Regions from separate parts of the Homo sapiens genome. Here region 1 is linked to region 2. Evidence: promoter capture Hi-C in 16 types of primary human blood cells and fetal thymus (Javierre and others, 2016). All regions are on one chromosome and are shown on one strand. Each heading gives the region's core, a stretch centred on a gene start or on the middle of the fragment in contact. The rest is flanking DNA. Distances are from core to core; before and after follow the strand shown.

The links. Contacts are between HindIII fragments. The CHiCAGO score rates a contact against its expected background, and 5 or more counts as called.
Region 1: a contact is called between a fragment that was not itself captured here and the fragment with the promoter of MTURN in region 2, in 1 of 17 cell types (total CD8 T cells). The highest score is 5.3, in total CD8 T cells.

Annotation. Positions count from the first base shown.
Region 1 is chr7:30,344,204-30,350,281 of GRCh38, forward strand. All of the region lies in intron 2 of ZNRF2 (zinc and ring finger 2), which reads left to right. Among named protein-coding and RNA genes, the nearest start is that of LINC01176, 44 kb to the right of the region's middle. RefSeq lists a silencer at 3,950-4,244. The HindIII fragment of the contact is 3,111 bases long and covers 2,386-5,496 here.
Region 2 is chr7:30,131,397-30,137,749 of GRCh38, forward strand. MTURN (maturin, neural progenitor differentiation regulator homolog) reads left to right here and starts at 3,590. Exons shown (of 3, transcript NM_152793.3): 1 at 3,590-3,902. The coding sequence starts at 3,741. It overlaps LOC105375216 (a long non-coding RNA gene), which reads right to left and starts at 3,318. Exons shown (of 3, transcript XR_927146.3): 1 at 3,208-3,318; 2 at 1,921-2,059; 3 at 1-87. RefSeq lists silencers at 3,488-3,737, 3,508-3,885, 4,078-4,217, 4,538-4,717. The HindIII fragment of the contact is 5,435 bases long and covers 2,230-6,353 here.

The DNA.
Region 1 (6,078 bases), core at 2,691-5,190, 210 kb after region 2:
GAGCCACTGCGCCCGGCCCCAGCTCTTGTTTCTTTTTTTTTTTTTAATTAGAAATAACTGTGTTGTTTCTTTTGATTAGAAATAACTGTGGTGTTTCTAATTGTATTTCTTATAACTGTATTTCTGTGTTTAGTGATTACTTTTATAATTTTATAGAATACCTCTTATTTTTAGATACTGTTTTTTTCTATGAGCAATAATGAAATTAGTGTATTTCCTATTTTTCTCCTTCCTTCCCGTGTTCTAATTTTAGTTGTTACATTACCTAATGTTTGCTTTTATACTATTAAGTTTTTTTTGTACTTCTCTTTGCTTTGTTAGCTTTAAATAATACTTTTTGACACCTAGTTATTTATATCATCTTCCCCCCATCCATCCTCACCTCTTTTAATTTTTGCTAGGTAGATACTTTATACATTATCTAATCAATGTTCCCACTTTTGTTTTAATCTTACCATTACGTAGATTCAGCTGCCACTGCTAATCCTTTTGCTTTAGTTTTTTCAGATGTCTCTTGGCTAGCTGAAGTTCATCCTCATAGAAATCCTTTCACATGGGCTCATGGGAAATAATTACCTAGATTTCTTGCATGTTTAACACAGACTGCTTATCTATGTGTCTTTTTGTTTTTTGAATAACAGTTTAACTGGGTATGAAATCTTTGGGTTATACCTTCTCTACTTGAGGACATTTTAAGCATTCTTCTGGTCTTACAAGTATAATAATGTGTTTCTGTGGAGAAGTCTGAAACCACCTGATTTGTCCTCCTTTTAAAATTGACTTAGTCTTTTTGCCAGAATGCCCAAAGAACTCTTTTTTATGACCGGTATCAACTAGGGTTGAAATTGTGTTGATTTTTTCTGGGTCAGTTTTTAGGACTTGGTGTGCCCTTTCAATATGTAGATCTAGATCTACTTTTATTTCTGTAATGTTTTCTTGAATATTATTTTTGACTACAGATAGGCATTACTGCATTTCCTTTTCTCGTTCTCTGTAGAGAACATTTTTTTCCCTCTAATTCTTAACTCTTCATTTTCTATTTATTTTTCTCATTTCTACCCCTTGATGTTCCTGTGATTTCTTCTAGTGCTTCTTCTAGTTTTACCTTCATTTTTGTAATAGCTTTTTTTTCCCCTTCCCTTCAGGTTTCATCCTCATTTGTGATCTCATCCTTGTATGTGCTTTTGGACAGTTGCTTCCTTATTTTCTTTAGTATTCATGGTAAATATGTTGATTTATTGAGGCTAGATAGTGGATATATAGTGTTCTGTTATACCATTCAGAACCTACACATTTGTATTTTAACTAGTAAATTTGGTGGTGGTCCTTCTCTTTTTTTTTTAAATTATTTATTATTTACTTTGTTCTTCCTAGCCTTTTCTGGATCAAGTTGCTTTCCTTTCCTCCAGATTAATTTAGAACTTCTATTATGCACCTTTTTGTTCTTTTAGTGGTTACCTTACTTTAGTGTATATCATTAAACATGGTTATTTTATTCTGTCAGAATGAGGGATTGTCTCTGAGTTCTTCCCCTGATACACTTGTTCACTTCCCCCACCCTCCACTGCCTCTCTCTTCAAGTCCTAGTTATTAGGAGATAATTTAGACTTCACATTAAGTTTTTACTGGCAGAATATTGCTTTTGTTTCAAAAACCCATAGTTGCGTTACAGTTCCAGATACAGCATTATCTATTTAGATTTAATTTCGCTTATACATGTTTTCTTGCTCTCTGCTGTTGTTTACACTCTTTATTTTTCTGTTACTGAGATCTTCATTCTTACTATAATTTTTGTTTGTTAGGAGCTCTTCCATGAGTAATTTTCGTTGGACAGTCTTAATGGGTAGTATAGTTTCTGAGCTATTAGACGCCCAAAATATTTTTTCATTTGCCTTTACATATGAATGCTATCTTGGGTGTATATAGGATTTTTAATTTCAGTGTTTTTTTTTTTCTGTTAAGTCTGATTTTTTTTTTTTTTTTTTTTTTTTTTTTTTTTTTGTGCGTGTGGTGGCATTTTGCTCTTGTTGCCCAGGCTGCAATGCAGTGGCACGATCTTGGCTCACTGCAACGTCTGCCTCCTAGGTTCAAGCAATTCTCCTGCCTCAGCCTCCTGAGTAGCTAGGATTACAAGTGCCTGCCACCACGCCTGGCTAATTTTTGTATTTTTAGTAGAGACAGCATTTCACCATGTTGGCCAGGCTGTTTTCCAACTCCTCAGGTGATCCGCCTGCCTCGGTCTCCCAAAGTGCTAGGATTATAGGCATGAGCCACTGTGCCTGGCCAAAGTTATTCTACTTTTTAACTTGCAGTATTGTAGATAAGAAGTCTGGCTTTGTCTCACTATTTTTTTTTAATTTTAATAACCTAGTCTTTCCATTTGGAAGCTTACAACATAATTTCTATTTTTGAAAGCCAGAATTTTTTTGTTTTTTCACCGTACTCCCATCTCTAATTAATCCTGCATCTATTTAAGTGTTTTTTCACTCTATTCCTATCTCTAATTCATCCTGCTTGAGACTTCATGAGCCCTTTCAGTCTAAAATCAAGTCTTATTTAGCCTAGGGATTACTTTCTTCTAGTATTTCTTTGATTGTTTTTTGTTTGTTCCTTTTATTCTTCCTGTGACTTCTGTAATTTTAATATTAGAGTTTTTAGATTTGTCTTCTTACAGTTTTATTAATGATTTTTGGTTTCTTTGGAGTTACTTACATGATATTTATTCTAGACTACTAATTTGTTATTTTCAGTGACTTTTTCACTGCCTCTGAAATATTAAATTGAAAAATTACGGGTTTTTTCATTCTAGGAATTTTTACTGGTAAAGTTGTCATCATTGTTGCCTCCTTCCTTCCTGTCTTCCCTCATTTATTCTGTCCCTATAGTAGGTGCCTATTTAAATTTTTTGGTGTGATTCCCCCTCATCCATTCCTGCATATACTTACATAGTTAATGATCTTTCTCAGTTATATAATGTTACGAGTTACAGAATCTCTCATTACCTATGTCGGTCATACTGTTATCTTTTTTCTCAAATAGAAAAAAATAGAATGAAAGTTATTTCTCTTTTGTGAGCCTGTTGGTCAGTAGCCTGTCACACGAAGAATTTTTGTTTGAATTTGGAAATTGTTCCTTGGAGCAGGGAGAGTTTTCATTTTCATCCCAACTCTGGCTTCTTTCTGGTGCTTTCAGTGTCAGTGAGAGCAGCCTTCCTCCCTGCTCTGTTAGATTCACTTAGGTACTGCTGACTGCTTGGGCAGTTTAAGGATTAGAGGACATTGACCAAGTCCAGTGAAAAGAAATAAACCTTTTCCCAAATCAATGTGTTTTTCACCCTTTCCTTAGAACAATTAAAAAGAAAAAAAAATCCATGGTGGTACATGCTTGTAGTCTCATCTACTCTGGAGGCTGAGGCAGGAGAATCGCTTGAGCCCAGGAGGCAGAGGCTGCAGTGAGCTGAGATTGTACCACTGCACTCCAGCCCAAGTAACAGAGCAAGACTCTGTCTCAAAAAAAATAAAATAAAACAAAATAACTTCACACTTGCTGTTTCTTGATTTTCACATGGTTGGTTACATTACCTGAGGTTTCAGATGAATCTAGATTTATATTCTCCAGGATCCAGCAATTAGTCACAGTTATTTTAGTAGTTTAGGAGCAAGGTAAAGGGGATCAAGAAAGATTTCTCAGTTGTTCATGTTGCATAAGTTCTAATTTAGCCAGAGCTGCTGGTTCTTAGATACTTGATTTTTCTAAATATGTTAGAATTTTATGTTTTGCCTTAATATCTCAGGAATGGACATTTTAAATATTTTTCCTGTTCATACATACTTTTAATACTTCACCCACATATACTAATAAACATGCAAGCATTTATTGGTAAACTTGGCACATTTATATATTCAGTACTTTTTGGTTGAGTGGCTGACACGCACTTCCTGTATAAAGAAGTCAATACACTTAAAAATGTTAAAAAAAAAAAAAAAAAAAAGATCTGACTTCAGCTGAGTCACCAAAACCACAAGCAGTCAAAGTGCTCAAGTCAGTGGCAACAACAACCCATTGCTTTGGGGCATTTTCTCTGTTCATTGGCTCTTCACTTGTTGCTTGGTGTTTTCCTTAGTCTTCTGAGATCGGTTGCTTCATTAGTTGTTCAAAAAATATTTATTGAGCACTTAGAATGTGCAAAACACTATGCTGCATGCTGGGATAAGCTAAATCTACAAGGTCCCCTGCCCTCATAGAATTTACCCTGTTTCTTTAATACAGAGGTGGCAAAGGATTGGCCACATCTGACTCACAGCCATGTTTTATTTTGCTTACACAGCATCAGAAATGTTTTTTGAGCATTCACAAATGAGAATATTCATCTGAATACCTATATTTCCACCTGCTTTAATATACATCTGGCCACCCTGGGCCTTTATTTTCCCATGGCATTCTACTCGTAAAAGCAGCTGCCCCTTTTTGATAGGACTACATGTACCGGTTTGCTTCCATTCTCTAAAAATCCCTGAAACCAAGACCAAATTCAACAGGCATTTATTGTTACAATTGTACTATTCTTTTTTCTTATAAAATAGTTAAGATGAGCTGCATCTTTAGGCATCTGAGTTTGTGACCCATGCATACTGATTATAGTCAGCCTGCTAATTATCTCATAGCCTCTAGAAGAAGCAGAAGAGAAAAAGCCTTACTTACATACTTCACTTTCAACAAAAACAGTAGTAGATATGCACATTGTAATACTACTCCTCAAATTCATTCTAACAAAATGATATCGAATCCAGATTTATAAATGTAATGATAGTTCTGATGTAACATTTGATATTTATTGTTGTATGTTGTCATAGCTGTGTGAATTGGCATTTTCCAGCTTATTTCAATATTGCTGTAGTAAAATTTTGTTTACAATCAGCTAACATTTAGTGCCTTTTACACATTTTCACATTCATTAGATTTATTTTTAATCATCCGTATTAAAGACCATGTGAGATGTAGGTATTATCACTTGCAATTTATTTTATGAAAATGAGGCTCAAAGAGGTTTGTGACTTGTCCAAAGCTCAAGCCTGTTCTTTTTCCATGAGACTGCCTTCATTTGCATTATCTCCTAAGATCTTCACAAGGATCCTAAGAGACAGGTCAAGCAGGTTTTATCATTATTACCACTTAAGATTGCAGAAAACAAACTCAGACTCCCTTCTTGCGAATAATCACGTAGCTAGTGTTCAGAACATACCTGCTCTGTTCCAGGTATCTCACTAGGCATTTGAGAGGTATTATTTATTTCTACCACTACCCTGTGAGGTAGGTACTGTTATCCTGTTATATTCCATAATAAATTGGAAGAGTTGGAGTTTGAAACTAAACTGTAAATTAAAAAAAAAAAAATTGCTACGTATTACCCAGATTGCTGGACTCTTTTATTGCCACTATGAGCCTACATACATTAAAATTTAAACATTTGTCTAATTTTAAAAGTATACAGTAATAAGCTTGAAAATCAGATAAAGATATTAGCTTTGTTGTGTTTTCAGGACTGGTGCTTTTCTCTCCTAGTGATTGAATAGAAATGAACCTGAAATTTTACTTCAAAGTATACTTTATTCTATTTTGGTCTGTATTCAATAGTTCCATTTTTTTTCTTGTTCATGTAGACAACTCATTTAGGAAAATATTTGTTTAGGTTTTAACAAATCAGTGTAATTGATTTTAAGTTTTAGTTTATTGTTGATTTGTGACAATGAGAGGGCATAGGAAAATTATCTTAGTTTGATTTCATGGTTGGGAAATAACTTGGTAATCTAATAATTTCCTAGACAACTTGTGTGACTACTTGTGGCTTGTTAGGTAAATACTCAATACTTATAAAATACTTAATCCTGAGTTAGCTTTTTAAGGTAAGTTAGGAGCAAAAAGGCCCAAGAAAGCTATGTCTAGGTGTGGAATTAGTGCTCCTTTTGTATATTGTAGCTTTTAGAGTTTGTGATTTGTGTTCCATTTTATTTTAGTTACATTTTCTTGGCGAATTCACCGAATTTCGATTTCCAGAATATTCCCAAGAGTATAAACTTT
Region 2 (6,353 bases), core at 2,340-4,839:
GTGGGGTTTGAATATGTCTCCTCTTCTTGCCAACACACATCTCCCAAAGGCAAATGGTGATTTTCAGAGACAGCAAAGTCCAGATTTCTATAAATGAACAGAAACGTTCCTTAAATACAATGAAGACTGTACAACTCTGCCTACTGGTGGGGATAAGTTTTTTTGTCTGTTTGTTTTGTTTTTTGAGATAGGGTTTCCCTCTGTCACCTAGGCTGGAGGGCAGTGGTGTGATCATGGCTCACTGCAGCCTCGACTTCGAGGGCTCAAGGGATTCTCCCACCTCAGCCTCCCAAGTAGCTGGGACTACAGGCACATGCCACCATGCCCAGCTAATTTTTGTATTTTTAGTAGAGACAGGTTTTCACCATGTTGCCCAGGCTGGTCTCAAACTCCTGGGCTCGGTGATCCACCCACCTTGGCCTCCCAAAGTGGTGGGATTACAGGTGTGAGCCACCACGCCTGGCTGGGGAGAAGTTTTAATTTTCCTTCTACTTCCAAACCATGGCCAAAGGCTATGGGAACACAAGAAAGGGGGTATGGGTAGCCCTGGTGTTTCCTCACCTACTGGCTGCACAAAACACCTGGCTAGAGTTCTGAAATGACCACTGCCCTGTGCATGAGGCCTAAATACACCCCTACAACCTGGGATGCCTCACAGGACTCTCCCCAAACAGGAGGGAGGCAGGGCAAAGGTTTATGATCTTCTTAGCTAAGCAACTGGTGGCTTTACCAGTTGTTCTAAGGAAACAAAATTTCAAGCAACTTCTGCAGATGAACTTTCCAGGATGAATTTCAGCTGCTTTATGTGCATACCCTTTCCACTAGTTAGTAAAAATGACCAAAACACGACTGTTGCAAGACTTTTCTCTCTAAATCTGTGGTTCTCAAGTAGGGGTAATTTTGCACTCAGGGGACATTTGGCAATGTCTGGAGAAATTTTTGCTTGTCACAGTGGAGAGAGGGGAGGGTAGAGGGAGATGCTACAGGCATCCAGTGGGTGGAGGCCAGGGAATGTGGCTAAAAATCCTGCAATGTGCAGGACAGCCTCCAACAACAAAGAATTTTTGGCTTCAAATATCAATAGTGCTGCTGCTGAGAAACCCTGCTCTAAAGACTTGGAAAAAAAAATGAGATTTAGGTTCATCTGTGACCAATATTACCAGTCATATCACTCCTGAATTTCACTTTAAAAATTCATTAGCTGATCTTCTTACACATCATCCCTAAGAAGTAGATTAAGAGTAATAATGGCATTTACTGAGTTCTTACTATGTGCTAGGTTCTGGGATAAGGACTTTATATACTTTATCTCACTGTTGTCCCTGTTTTCAGAAAAGAAAACTGAGCTCCGAGCAATGAAGGAAGTTGCAGATGCACATAAAACTTAAAATGGCAGAGGGAGGAATCAATGCAGACATGGAGTTCTGAAGCTTTTGCTGTTGCTCTCAGTGCATTTCTAAGGAAACCCAACGGTATCCATTTCATTGACCAATTGCTTTGTACCCAAAATTTTATTTTTCATAAGAGTTTTTCATTTTCTGACAAAAACTATTTGTTAAATAAACATAACTTCATAATTCTGATCACATCACTTGGAGCAAATTTGACTGATACATTTTAAAACACATGGATTAAAAAAAAAACTCCTTCTTTCCCGAAAAAGGAAAAAAGGAATGTATTTTTCATATTTTCATCTCCAATTTAAGGAATTCATTTTTGGAACACATATTATGCTTTAAATGGTGGTGCCAGGTAAAACTGCAAGGAAGCTTGTGCTATCTGGAGACACCCATACTTTTTTTTTTTAAGGACCATTTTGTAACTTTACAACAGCATATTGCATTTTTATATTCATGTGCCTGTCTCCTTCATTGTCCTGTGTATTAGTTTTCTACTGCTGCATGAAGAATTTAAACAGACCTAACAGCTTAAAACAACACCCATTTAATAGCCCACAGTTCTGAAAGTCGGAAGTCCCAGCACAGCCATGGCATCACTGGGTTCTCGCTCAGGTTCTGCGAAGGCTGCAATCATGGTAATAGTCAGGCTCAGTTCTTGTCTGGAAAAGACAACAAGTTTGAGAAAAAAATCTGCTTTTCAAGCTCATTCGGGTTGTTGGCAGAATTCAGTTCCTTGCAACATTGGCCTAGGCAAATAATTTATGACTAAAACCCCAAAGGAAGTGCAACAAAAACAAGAATAGACAAATGGGCCTTAATTAAACTAAAAAGCTTCTGCACAGTAAAAGAAACAATCAACAGAGTAAATAGACAACCTACAGAATGAGAGAAAATATTTGCAAACTACGCATCTGACAAAGGACTAATATCCAGAATCTACAAGGAACTCAAACAACTCAACAAGAAAAAAAAAAAACCCATTAAAAAGTGGGCAAAGGACATGAACAGATATTTCTCAAAAAAGACATACAAGTGGCCAACGAACATATGAAAAAATGCTCAACATCCACTAATTATCAGAGAAATGCACATTAAAACCACAATGAGATACAATCTCACACCAGTCAAAATGGCTATGATTAAAAAGTCAAAAAACAGCAGATGTTGGTGAGGGTGCAGAGAAAAGGAAACATATATACGTGTTGGTGGGAATGTAAATTCGTGCACAGTGCCTGGTTCAGAAGACACACTTTACAGAAAAAAGCTGGCTGAATGTTTATAACGTGTCTGTGTTTGTAGTGTTCAAGTCCTGAGGGCGAGGACCCTAGTGCATTTTCTGCAATCCAGTAATGCCTGTCCAGTATATGGCAGCCAGTGAGCACTCAACAGGTGCAATCGTTGGGCCACACACTCTTGTTTTAAAATGTGCTTTATCCTCTTGACCTTTTTAGGTTATGCAATGTGAATTCAAGCTGAATAATACTGAAGCCAGTCTTATGAGGCTCATTTCTAAGAAATATTCAGCTTTACGTAACGCAAATAAAAAATCACACACGCCCTTTGCAAGTGAACATTCATATTAGTGTCTGATAAATGCATTAAGAAGACACATTCCCTTAAATCAATCGGAGAACAGAACTTTGGTTTCTGCAAAAAGAAAAGCTCCCTTTTCCTTAGATTTTCTCAGCTCCTCCACTGCTAGCCCCAGACAAGGTCCAAGTTATCTGCAGTTCTATGGCCTCCCTTGCATTTAAATCGCATTTGGGCAAACGCTTCCTGGGCTTTCTAACTCCACAGAAACGCTAACCAGGTATTGGGCGCTCGCACCGCTTCCAGGTAACCCGCGGAGCTGCGGATTCCAGGCTCGCGCTGTGACGTCACCGGGCTCGCAAGCCGCGGCGCGGTCTCAGGCTCCGGTGATTGGCTGGGGCCCATGACGTCACGGCCCGGGGCGGCACCGCGATGGCCAGGGCCCCGGGATGCTCCGGGTTTGTTTAAAAATAAAGGGGGGGCGGGAGCGCCCAGGAAAATCCGGGCGCCCGCGGGGGTGCCGGCCGCTCCTCCCGCCGCCCCGCGTCCCGGCCCGGCCGCGCCAACCCCCACGGCGGCCCGCAAGGGGGCGGGGGGAGGCGGGGCGGAGGAGGAGCCGCGGGCGCGGCGCCGCGCTGTCCCCGGCCGCCGCCCGCCCCACTCCGCACCGCATGTAAACAGTCCCAGCCGGCCCAGCCCGGCCCCGGAGGAGCCCGCGCAGGCCGAGCCGAGCGCCGCGCTGCCCGCCCGGGAGGAGGGCGCCTAGGAGCGGGAGGGCGGGCGGCGGCGGGAGGCGGGCGCGGGGCCGCGATGGATTTCCAGCAGCTGGCCGACGTTGCGGAGAAATGGTGCTCCAACACGCCCTTCGAGCTCATCGCCACCGAGGAGACCGAACGCAGGATGGATTTCTACGCCGACCCCGGCGTCTCCTTCTATGTGCTGTGTCCGGACAACGGCTGCGGCGACAATTTTGTGAGTGCCTGGAGGAGGGACCGCCGGAGCCGGCGGGAGTGTGGACGCGGCGGTGCGTCCCTGCGCCCGAGCTCCCGCGCGGTGGGCGGCGGTGGGCGCAGAGTGGGGGGCCGTAACCCGCGCCCCGCGCCCCGCGTGCTCCGCCGGGGAAGCCCCGGGCCGGGCGGTGCGGGCTCCGCTGCCCGGGTGGGGCCCGGTGGGCGGCGGGCAAGGCGCCCGGAGGATCCGGGGAGCCGGGTCGGGGCGGGAGGTGTGGCGTCCCCCTAAAGGCCACTCCTCTCCCCGCTGCTGCGGGCGCCGTTTCGGGAACCCGACCTCGCGGCCCGTGCGCGGTGCCTGGCATGGAGCATCCCTGGGGTGTGGGTGTCACCCGCGTCGGACCAGCCGGGTCTGGGGCGCACGGACCCTCCGGCAGGAGCCCAGGTCCGGAGCTTCCCACATCCAGGCGTCCCGTCCGGGATAGGAATCCCGCTCCCCTCCGGTGCCCAGCCTCGGCTCCTCGCATTGCCCCTCCCGGGAGAACCCCACTCCCCGCCCTCGCGGGTTAGTCCTTGCACTGCCTGTTTGGACACAAAGCTCTGTCCATACTAGCGATGCCCGATCTCCTGGACCTTCTTTGCGGAATTACACCCCGGATCTTAATACGCACGCGCGCCTGCGCATACACCCCAACACACACACACACATGCTCACACCCTCACCCTCACACGCGCACACTCACGCGCACACGCGGCACGCCTCTCCCCCTGCCCCCGCGCTGCCCTCGCTGCCTCTCTGAGCTGCCCGAGAGGTGTGTGTGGCCCGGGCGGGTTCTCTCCAGCCGAGGCGGTGCCCTGGCCCTGCTGAAGCCCGTTGGCTTTTCCAGATGACGGGGAATCCCCTCAGCCCCGGCTCAGAGGGACCGGGAACTGGGACTGCGGTGTCCAAACCTTCCACTTTGAATCCTGCACCCACCTGGGATCCCGACTCTGGCAGTTGAGGAAGGGGATGCGGAGGGCAGGGGAGTCGGGGTGGGAGGGGTGGAGTAGGGCGAGCACGGTGCTCATGAAGTGTTTCCAAGGTCGGGGAATAAATAATGATCCCCAAATGTAAGATGGAGGCGGCCGTGGGCGCGGGTGACCGTGTGGTCGCGGGCCTTGTGGGCGGAGGTGGGGTGGTGCGGGGCGCGGCCTGGTGCACGCTCCTCAGGTGGGGGAGACAAAGCTGGGCCGTGGTCCTGCCGCCGAGCGCCCTGACCACCTACGGGAAGTTCGCGAAGGAGTTAGGGAGACTGCAAGACCGCCTTTCTTGGTCCTGGAGAGGTGAAGGCTTATGTATGCCTGGCCGATAAAGCATTCCCTCCGCCCACACGCACCCCCTGAGGAGGGCAGGGATCCACCTGGGCATTCCACAAGTGGCACTCCAGAAGAGGGATGGCCTTGTGTGACAGCCAGATTTGAGTTCTGGCTCTGTGACTGTGCTCAAATACCCACCCTGAGCTCAGTTTCCACATCCAAAAAAATAGGTATAATAATGCCAGCACCCAGGCGTTCATATAGGTAACGCACCGAATAGTCCCTAACACACAGCAAGAGCCCCACAAATTTGGGGTTAGAGACCTGGGGTTTCCCAGAATTTAGAGCTTGTCTCATTTTTTAAAGAGCCTTGGTTTTCCCACCTGTAAAATGGGGCTAATCAGAATACCTCCAGAAGAGCCAACTGAACAATAATATTAATGCCTGTAAGCCCATCTTAACTGTAGGTAAAGTAAGTAAATAAGTGTTCTTTTTGGAAGGAGTGGGAGATCATTAAAAAGGGATTCACTCCATTGCAAAAGTGTGAGAAAGCCCCCAGGATACAGTGGAAAGGGCACCAGAATCCAGCTGACTGTAAAATGTTAGGGTTTGGCTAGGGTCCCTTCCAGCTCTGGGCTTCCTTCATCTGCCAGCGCCCTTTCTCCCTCCTGACCGTGTGAAACAGGGCAAGAATGGCTCATGGTTCTGGATTTCACTGGGGAGAAGCCCACACAGCCTTCCTGCTGGGACCGCCCAGGCCATACCCAAAGAAATGACTCCAAAGACAGTAAGTGGGCCAGGAAGACAAAAGGCTGTTCTCTTGCCATGAATATGTGTATCCAACCATCGTTCAGAAGTAAGAAGTATTATATTATTTGTATCAGGCCTTTCTCTTGAGGCCACCCAGATTTTAAATATTTTCCCATCTGCATGAGAAAAATGCTTGAAAGTGTCATGTAAACTGACAATTTAAATAGAATAGATAGAAAGATAGAGGATGGGGGTGGGCAGATGATTCCTTGGGTAGAATGGAACTTTCTCCAAGTTCTGGAGGCTCTAATGGACAAGATGCCAACCTCGGGAGTTTTCCTAGCCGGACCTCTTGAATCTGTCCCAGGCCAGGTTTGTCAAGCTACTGTTTGCCTCTAATAAGTGTCCTGCCTTAGTTCTTTTCTTT